Regions from separate parts of the Homo sapiens genome. Here region 1 is linked to region 2. Evidence: promoter capture Hi-C in 16 types of primary human blood cells and fetal thymus (Javierre and others, 2016). All regions are on one chromosome and are shown on one strand. Each heading gives the region's core, a stretch centred on a gene start or on the middle of the fragment in contact. The rest is flanking DNA. Distances are from core to core; before and after follow the strand shown.

Region 1 (5,316 bases), core at 2,762-5,261, 170 kb after region 2:
AAGGACTATAAATCATACTGCTATAAAGACACATGCACACGTATGTTTATTGCGGCATTATTCACAATAGCAAAGACTTGGAACCAACCCAAATGTCCATCAACGATAGACTGGATTAAGAAAATGTGGCACATATACACCATGGAATACTATGCAGCCATAAAAAATGATGAATTCATGTCCTTTGTAGGGACATGGATGAAATTGGAAATCATCATTCTCGGTAAACTATTGCAAGAACAAAAAACCAAACACCGCATGTTCTCACTCATAGGTGGGAATTGAACAATGAGATCACATGGACACAGGAAGGGGAATATCACACTCTGGGGACTGTGGTGGGGTCGGGGGAGTGGGGAGGGATAGCATTAGGAGATATACCTAATGCTAGATGACGAGTTAGTGGGTGCAGTGCACCAGCATGGCACATGTATAGATATGTAACTAACCTGCACAATGTGCACATGTACCCTAAAACTTAAAGTATAATAAAAAAAAGAAAGAAAACAAAACAAAACAAACAAAAAAGAATCAAAAAAATAAATTACAAACTTAAATATAAAATATAAAACTATAAAACTTTTAGAAAAAAATGGAAGAAAATCTTTAGCATGTAAGACCAAAGAGTTCTTAGGTAGCACCAAAAACATGATCCATTAAAGAGAAATTAATAAATTGATTAAAAAAATTATGTTCTGCAAAAGAACAGAGGAGAAAAAGACAAGCTGTGAACTATACATGATATATATTTGCAAATCACATATTTGACAAAGGAGTAGTACCTAGAATGTATAAAGAACTTTAAAAACTGAACAATTAGAAAGCAAACACTAAAAGTACAGCATGGGCAAAAGACATGAAGAAATATTTCATGGAAAAAGATATACAGATGACAAATAAGCATGTGAAAAGATGTTCAACATCATTAGCCATTAGGGAAATGCAAACTAAAACCACGAAAAGTTAGCACACCTATCAAAATGGCTAAAATAAATGCTGGTGAGTGTTCAAAGAAACAGAATCAGTCATACATGTAAAATGGTACAGACACTCTGCAAACAGTTGATGCTGTTGCTTAAAAATTAAACATGCTGGCCGGGCACAGTGGCTCATGCCTGTAATCCCAGCACTTTGGGAGGCTGAGGCGGATGGATTGCCTGAGGTCAGGAGTTTGAGACCAGCTTGGCCAACATGGTAAATCCCTGTCTCTACTAAAAATACAAAAAGTTAGCGGGCGTGGTGGCGCATGTCTGTAATCCCAGCAACTCGGGAGGCTGAGGCAGGAGAATCGTTAGAACCCAGGAGGCGGAGGTTGCAGTGAGCCGAGACAGTGCCACTGCACTCCAGCCTCGGTGACAGAGCAAGACTCTGTAAAAAAAAAAAAAAAAAAAAAAAATTAAACATGTAACTACCATACAACTCAGTAATTGTACTTGTTCACACAAATGTTTGTACATGAATGTTTATGGCTGCTTTGAACTGGAAGCGACCCAGATGTCCTTCAACACATGATCAAACAAACTGTGGTACATACATACCAGAGGGTAATTCTTAGTGACAAAAAGGAAAAACTGTTCAACAATCTGTTTAAATTTTCACGGAATTATGCTGTGTTGAAAAAACCAGTCTCAAAATGTTAAGCACTGTATGATTCTTTTTATACAACATCCTTGAAATGACAGAATTATACAAATGAAGAACAGATTGGTGGTTGCCAGGTATAAAGAAAGGAGTGGGTGTGGGAGGCAGGTGAGAGTGGCTATAAAAGAACAATCAAAAGAGATCATTGCAGTGACAGAAATGTGTTGTACATTGGCTATGTCAATATCAATATCATATGCTGTTGGTGATGTTTTTCTATAGTTTTGGAGGATGTTATTTTTTGGGGAAACTGGGCAAAGAGTACATGGATCTCTTGTATCACATCTTACAATGGCATGCCAATCTCTATTCTTTAAAAATAAAAATTTTAATTAGAAATTTAATTTAACAAAGGAAGAAACAGGTTTTTGTGTGTGTGTTAGTGGTGTTTTTTTTTTTTTTTTGACGGAGTCTCACTGTTGCCCAGGCTGGAGTGCAGTGGTGCGATCTCAGCTCACTACAACCTCCATCTTCCTGGTTCAAGGAATTCCCATGTCTCAGCCTCCCAGGTAGTTGGGATTACAGGCACACGCCACTACGCGCAGCTAATTTTTTTCTATTTTTAGTAGAGATGGGATTTCATCATGTTGGCCAGGCTGGTCTCGAACTCCTGACCTCAGGCAGTCCACCTGCCTCAGCCTCCCAAAGTGCTGGGATTACAGGCGTGAGCCACCATGCCCCGATGAAACAGTTTTAAGAAGCATTTTATCTTTAAAAGGTAGAAGAACATGGGTTTTGGAGATCGGACAAACATCTGACCACTTCCACTGTTACCACGAGATCATGCATCAGACAGAGCTGAGCAGCTTTTTTTTTAAAAAAAAATTTACTTCCATAAGTTTTTGGGGAACAGGTGGTATTTGGTTACATGAGTATGTTCTTTAGTGGTGATTTGTGAGATTCTGGTGCACCCATCACCCGAGTAGTGTATGCTGAACCCAATTTGTAGTCTTTTATCCATCACCCCTTCCATCTTTTCCCCTGAGTCCCCAAAGTCCATTGTATCATTCTTATGCCTTTGCATCCTCATAGCTAGCTCCCACTTACAAGATTTCAGGTTCGGTTTTCCATTCCTGAATTACTTCTCTTAGAATAATAGTCTCCAATTCCATCCAGATTGCTGTGTCATTAATTCATTCCTTTCTATGGCTGAGTAGTATTCCATCATATATACAACCATTTCTTTTTCCACTCATTGATTGATGGGCATTTGGGCTGGTTTCATATTTTTTGCAATTGCAAATTGTGCTGTTATAAACATGCACGTGCAAGTATCTTTTTCGTATAATGACTTCTTTTCCTCTGGGTAGATATCCAGTTTTGGGATTGCTGGATCAAATGGTAGTTCTACTTTTAGTTCTTTAAGGAATCTCCACACTATTTTCCACAGTGGTTGTACCAGTTTACATTCCCAGCATGAGCAGCTTTTTAAATTAAAAAAAAAAAAACTAACTTCTTGGTGAATCTGGATTCATAATATCTGTACTCCATTCTGAGGGGACTTCAGATGTTGGCATGATTTTACTCCAGTATGTGTTTTAAAAAGAAAAGGAAGGACACTCCCTAAATCCAATCCCTAGAAGTTCTATCAACATCCTCTCAAGCCTTTATATCATTTATTTATACTTATATCAAGTACTCTCAAGCTTTTATATTAATTAGACAGGTACAGTAGAAAGCTTTTAGGTTGGGTAGATTCTGATATCGATTTTCAGAAGATTCCAATATTCTTATCTAAGCTGAAAGAAGGTATTGAAACATCATACAAATACCGTGGGAATCTCTCAGAACAACTTACATAATACAGTGTTATCAGTCTTCAAAATTTCTATAATTTCATATAATATCAGTATTATCAGTCTTCAAAATTTCTATAATTTCATGAAGTTCTTAATATCTTAGAAACAAATCTACACTTGTTAACCTCAGTGGGAATCATTATACATGTTCCTCTGATTCTTTTTCCATTTTTCCACATTTTACACATGAGCAAACTCTGAACATAACAAACCTCACAATTCTCCAGTGAGTCAATCTGATGTTGATAGGACTTCCAATATTGGCAGTTCTGGGGGCTCTCTCACACTTCTTAAACTATCAATGTTATAGCTGGGATTGGAATTAGGGAGTGTCATTCCTTTTCTTTTTAAAACACATACTGGAGTAAAATCATGCCAACATCTGCCATCTAGGGGGAATTCTGAATGGAGGTTCTCCAGTGGAAAAATAGGGAAGTTTTGTTACATACATTGTACACTGGACAGAGCTAAAGAAAATGAAAAACCATTTCGTGAAAGCATTACTTGGTCTTGTCCATAATAATATTATATTTTAATAGAGGACTGAAGTGTGGAATTGTCTTTTATGTTTAATGGCAGTCATAGGAAAAATTGCAGTAGGATGTGCATAAACCATCAGAACTCACTGAGGGATCCCAGGGGAAGGAGTGTGATGGGGGAATCACACAAACAGGTGTATGATGTCATGTTACTGTCTAATGATAACAAAGAGCCCATGCCAGTTTCTGAAGACAGACCTGCATGGCTGCAGCTTATATTTTTATTTGGAAGAAAGAGAAAGTGGACAAAATCCGGAGTTGCCTAAAATATAATTTGTATGCTATGGCCTGAAACTTCATAAATGATCCATAAATATGATGGCAAAAGTAAACAAAATTAAAAATGTTTTGTAGGTCTTTATGAGGCAAAGGCATAAATGAGGTTGTATCAGAAGTTGGGGAACATGGGAGGGGCTGCTTCAAGACCTGCAGAAATTACTGTAAGTTGATTGAAGATGGTTTTAAAAAGAACCTGGGACTTATAAATGGGGGTGGAGGTTTGGTGAGCCATGGCAGCTTAGAGAAAAGAGAGAGTCTGAGACAAATTCAGAAGTGCTGGTTACGACACATTGCATGGGGGAGGGAGAGCCACCCAAGGCACTTGAATTTTCCAGAGTGCCTGGCAAAATCTGTTTTAGAACAAATGCATTAGATGCCATTCCGTATTATTAGAACTTCTAGAATATTAGAATGTTCTAAATATTTGCTGAGAAAATAAGCTTTTAGGGCAATACAAGGGATCCTTGTGCTGATGGAGCTACTCTGTGTCTTGAAGGTATCAATGTCACCATTGGACTTGTGATACCGTACTGTAGTTTTGCAAGAAGTTATCATTGGGGGGAAACTTGGTAAAGAGTACAGAGGTTTCTTTGTATTATTTCTTGCAACTGCATGTGAATCTACAATTATCTCAAAAAGTTTAATTATAAAAAAGAAAATAACCTTTGGTTATAATTTCACTTTTCATGCAGGTATATCTATAGGAAGAAAATATCCTGGTCAAAAAGACCCATGAAAATGTCATCTTCTCTTTAAGTTATTTCTCATGTAGATTCTTCAACTGGTACTAATGTTATGGGCTTGGTGAAAGTGAGCCTGCTCCCAGAGGTGGTTTCACTCTTAGAATGTAAATAATTTCAGTTTCTGGAGTGTGCAAGGCTGAAGGCCAGATACTGGTACGTTTTTCAAGGTAGTATTTACTACCCTGGAAGACAGCCTTCCTGTTTCCTCCAAAGGATGCCTAATAAGTATGTATGGCACTTTGTGTTTCTTTTTAAATTTTACATATTTTACATATTTTGTTGCTTATGGACTTCAAAAATCAGCGAATGGTCAAT
Region 2 (5,262 bases), core at 424-2,923:
GACTTCCAGAGTCACCCAAGAAAACACACATTATTATTTTGTAGTCACAACCTGTTTCTGACCCATTAAAGATGCTATGCAGCTTGGTTATTCACCCTATGCACTAGGTGTGGTTTCAAATGACTTCTGGCTGGTTCCAAAAATAAACACACCCATAGAAGATGAAGATTGGCCTTCAATGAGGATAACCAAAAGAATGTGTCCCAAGCTGTGAAGGCAAGTTTGAAGGAAGGGTGATCTGAGGAATGGCAGGTCACCTGTAGGAAAAGAATTCTTGTATGGCAAGACTTAATATGTAGCTTCCAAAAGGAACAACTTGGAGGAGTATCTTTCAGAATTTGAGCACTGATAGATTAAACATAAAATCCTCATATTTCATAGTTCCATCTGGAATGCATGAGAGTAGAGCATCTGCTTGCCAAAATGTGCCAATGGTCATAAAATGCCACTTCATGCACATGACATAGTGGTGGATTTTCAGGGTCATATCCTTTGGAGAGCTAGGCTTGGGTATTTCTCCCTCAGATCAACCAAGGGTTTCCTTTTTTTTTTTTTTTCAAGCTTCTAGTGGGTATGAGGCATTTTCACTTAGTAAACTTCCTTCCTTCAGCATAGAAGTGACTTTTGGTTCTTTAATAAGTAAAAAACAGGCTTGTTATTTTTTGGCCCATTCTAATTTAGGATATTGTCAGCACTGATTGAGCTCAATGGAGCTCAATCTGTATTTTTTGCATTATTGCATCTCAGTACTGAAAAGATTGGAAGAGAGAGACATGTAATATGACAGAGTGTGGACATTGGAATTAGAGAGATCTGTATTTGAACCCTGGCTCCATCATGTAGGAGCTCTGTGACCTTGGGAGACCTCTCAGAGGCTTAGGGTCCTTATCTACAAACCCTTGCAGCATTTTGAGAGGACTGAAGGAGCTGGTGCATATGAGGTGCCTGGCACTGTGCCTGGTGCACAGTGGAGGCTCAGCAAGCAGGACCCATCACCAATGACAGAGTCACGCTGTGCACAGGCATGGAGCACAGTGCTTCATGCAGAGTAGGTGCTCCCAAAATTTAGGTTTCTTAATGTTCTGTGAACACTGAATACTAGTAGAAACGGAGGTGGGTGGCTTCCTGCAGCCCCATAGGAAGAGGGTAGAGTTGCCTCCATCTGCCTGGATGGAACTGCAAATGGGCCTTGAACCAATGGCCTTGTAAGTCCTTTCTCATTTCAGCTTCCAGGATTCCCTATCACATAGTCTAGTTTCTAGACGGGTTTCCTTACATGGCTTTTCTCACAGAGTCTTAATTGAATATGAACTGGATGAGACACAAGCCTTTCCTCATTTAGGAGAAAGAGGCACATATGTGCCCCCTACTCTGGGGACAGGGCCCAGCTGTCACTCTAGCTCAATGTCCCATGGATAAGCACTGCTACAGGCAAGGTTGGTCACTTTGAAGCCAAACCATGAAGCTCTTACTTAACCAATCAGCATGTTTTGTGAGGAGTCCTGACTTAGCAAGAAGCCAGAGTAAAACATTTAATGAGGTATAGGACTCAGGTGAAGTGGCTAAATAACAAATGGAAAAATCAGCAAAGGAGGTAAAAAGGAGGAATACTTGACATGGTTGCCACACCCACTGCTAACAGAATATAAAGCCCTGGAAAGGACCAAGGCTTATCCCAGGGAAAAGGAATCAGGTTTTGAAACTGACTTCCAGAGCTCCACTGCCTCCCTGCACCATGCCCTACAACTTCTGCCTGCCCAGCCTGAGCTGCCGCACCAGCTGCTCCTCCCGGCCCTGTGTGCCCCCCAGCTGCCACGGCTACACCCTGCCCGGGGCCTGCAACATCCCTGCCAATGTGAGCAACTGCAACTGGTTCTGCGAGGGCTCCTTCAATGGCAGCGAGAAGGAGACTATGCAGTTCCTGAACGACCGCCTGGCCAGCTACCTGGAGAAGGTGCGTCAGCTGGAGCGGGACAACGCGGAGCTGGAGAACCTCATCCGGGAGCGGTCTCAGCAGCAGGAGCCCTTGCTGTGCCCCAGCTACCAGTCCTACTTCAAGACCATTGAGGAGCTCCAGCAGAAGGTGAGGAGGTGGGCACCACACTGCCAGCTTAATGAACTACTTATCTATATTTGACATACTAAACTGTGAATGGATCTAAGTCTGTTCACAGTAATGCTGAGAATGATAAAGACATAGATTCACTGGCTTAGGTATGACATCAAGTAGTCTTAGAAAATCTGTTGTAGAGCCACAAAGGAAGGATGCAGGCTGGTGTTAGAGTGAAGCATTAGACCAAAATCAGTCATAGCAATCTTATATGGCGTCTTACTCCAAACCAGAATATCTGATTTTTTGGTTTGATTATGATACCCTGGTTTTGTTTTCAGAGCATTACCGCATTTTCAAAAAGTATGCACCTGAATTATTTTCTATGCTAAGAATTTCCTAAGTAAATCTTCAAATATTTAAAGCCTTTCAAAGCTGTAGCAAAATATAGCATTTATGGCAACACAAGAGAGCTGTTGACTCCAGCAATATCTACAGACACATGGACCATCCTCTAGAGCAGCCATGTGTACAGATGACAATATGGGGCCATCTGTTCTGGAAGAGAAGTAGATATAAGTAAAGAGTCCACAGAGAATTGGGACTGAATACCTGGTGTAGGTTTGGGAGGGATCCCAGAAGAGGCAATGTCTGAGTGGGGTTTGAAGGATGAGTGGGAGTTTATATCCAATTGTACAAGCCCTTGATTCTGGGAGGGAATTGACTGCCCACTGTTCTGTAGATCTGGAAAATTAGATGCCAGAAAGGGGTTGTGCTATTTGAATATCATTCATTTATTTACCCAGAGTTGGAGAGTGTTAGGCACAGTGCTGGGGTGGGGGATAATGTACTGAGTAAGACAGTCTCCTTCCTTCAGGAGCTCACAGTCTAACAGGGGAGATAGATGTGGAAACAAAATGATCACACAAAGGTCATAAGAAGTGTTATTGATTAAGTATGTGGGTTACACAAGGGGTCTTGCTAGTGGGTGAGGGCATTCTGGGTACAGCAAGAAGCTTTTTGCAAAGGCATGAACAAGGGCAATATGAGGGGAGAGTGGAGAGAAGTTAGCAGGTGGAATGTGTTGGATAACCAAGTTGTTCTGGCTTGCCTGGGATTTTTCCCATTTTAGCATCCCAGAAACCCCTCAGTCCTAAGTTAACTGGGATGGTTGGTCACCCAACCGAAGGGTTGGATACCCAGTAACCTAATTATTGCAGGAAGCCAGAAGCAGATAAGAATAGAATTCATGATGAATTCACATTGGTTGTCCTGGTTTTGAAATGATCAGTTTTATGATCAAATCCTCCTTTTATCTCAGAGCTGAAAATCTGAAAGGACTCAAAGCTATTTGGGAGGAATGTGGCTGAAAGAAAATAGCATTTCACTTTAAGGCACAAGGCATTTCTTAGTATAACCCATTTCATGATTAATCCTATCCCCAGATCCTGTGCAGCAAGTCTGAGAATGCCAGGCTGGTGGTGCAGATCGACAATGCCAAGCTGGCTGCAGATGACTTCAGAACCAAGTAAGATTTTCCTAACCATCAGAGCAGTCTAGTAACGGACAGGCTGAATTACAAAGTGATGAGCTCCCTATCCTGGAATGTGGAAGCAGAAATTTCTATTGGGAGGATTCTTGCATTGGGTTAGGATTAGGTTAAATGTCAAAGCCTCTTCAATAGGTGCTCAGATTCTGTGTTTTAAGTTTTTTTTTTTAATTTTTTTATTTTGAGATGGAGTCTCCCTCTCTCATCCAGGCTGGAGTGCAGTGATGCAATCTTGGCTCACTGCAACCTCCGCCTCCCGGATTCAAGTGATTTTCCTGCCTCAGCCTTCCTCGTAGCTGGGATTACAGGCATGCGCCAGCAGGCCCAGCTAATTTTTATATTTTTAGTGGAGACCGGGTTTTACCATGTTGGTCAGGCTGGTCTTGAACTCCTGACCTCAAGTGATCCACCCGCCTCAGCCTCCCAAACTGCTGGGATTACAGGCGTGAGCCACTGTGCGCAGCCCTGTGCTTTAAGTTTGATTGTAAGACACCATCCATTCTTACTCCTTTTCAACCCAACGTCTGGAGTAAGTTTGAAAGTGATTTTCACATTGGTCTCTTTGTATACGTTAGTCACTGTCAACCCCCCAAAAAGAAGTTATTAAACCACAAAAACAGGAGGCAAAATCCATTGCCTTTCAGAGAATCAATCAATACTTTTAGGTATGACCATTATTACAATCATGAGAATCCTTTGCATTTTCCTGGGATCTTACATTTTACAACATAATTTTACATATATCATCTTCAGTCCAACCCTATAAGGTGTTAGTTTTGTCTTCATTTTACAGTTAAGGAAATCAAGCCTCAGAGAGATAAAGGTATCTATCTACAGTCATTTAATGAGAATACTGGCTCTAACTCTGAATTCAGTGTTTCTTCCACAACACTAGATTGCTTCTTGGCAAGGCTGGAAAGGATGACAGGACAACCTGGAGCAGGCTTATGAAGGGCACTGATTCACTTGAGATGGCAAAAGCAGCAGGGCTTAGTTGATAGTAACTTGTAAACGAGAGTCTTAGAACAAACTTAGTTTGTGTTAGACTAAACTATCCACAGGCATTCCACCAATACCTTTTCTGTGTGTCTCAGTGACAAAATAGGCCTTCTCACTCAGTACAGGAGTATTTTCTCCCTTAATTTTTTAAATTCAAAATATTTCAAAATATAATAAAATTGACTAAGTCAGCCAAGTAAAGGCCGGGAAACAAAGACTTTTTTTTTTTGGACCTCTTTTGACCTCTGGCTGTGTGTGCAGGTACCAGACGGAGCAGTCCCTGCGGCAGCTGGTGGAGTCCGACATCAACAGCCTGCGCAGGATTCTGGATGAGCTGACCCTGTGCAGGTCTGACCTGGAGGCCCAGATGGAGTCCCTGAAGGAGGAGCTGCTGTCCCTCAAGCAGAACCATGAGCAGGTAAGAGTCCCAGCCCCCAATATCCCAATACTGAGAGCTCTGTGATCCCCCTGAATAGGATAAGGTAGGATTTGATTTGCTAAGCACCCTAGGCCTAACAACATTTTGCTGGTTGCTCAAAACATACTTTGGGGCTTGTTGGGGAATGAGTGACAGCTTACCTTTTTTACATAAAGGAGTGTGGTAAGCTGACCTACTTCCCCTTGGGACCAGACATGTATGGCTGAAAGGTCACACAAATATCTT

What was found. The method cuts DNA at HindIII sites, captures the fragments that hold promoters and counts their contacts. A CHiCAGO score of 5 or more calls a contact.
Region 1: a contact is called between a fragment that was not itself captured here and the fragment with the promoter of KRT33B in region 2, in 1 of 17 cell types (total CD8 T cells). The highest score is 5.4, in total CD8 T cells.

The regions. Positions count from the first base shown.
Region 1 is chr17:41,196,054-41,201,369 of GRCh38, reverse strand. No RefSeq gene overlaps it. Among named protein-coding and RNA genes, the nearest start is that of KRTAP9-1, 8.8 kb to the right of the region's middle. The HindIII fragment of the contact is 1,378 bases long and covers 3,323-4,700 here.
Region 2 is chr17:41,366,224-41,371,485 of GRCh38, reverse strand. KRT33B (keratin 33B) reads left to right here and starts at 1,673. Exons shown (of 7, transcript NM_002279.5): 1 at 1,673-2,083; 2 at 3,496-3,578; 3 at 4,860-5,016. The coding sequence starts at 1,736. The HindIII fragment of the contact is 2,505 bases long and covers 564-3,068 here.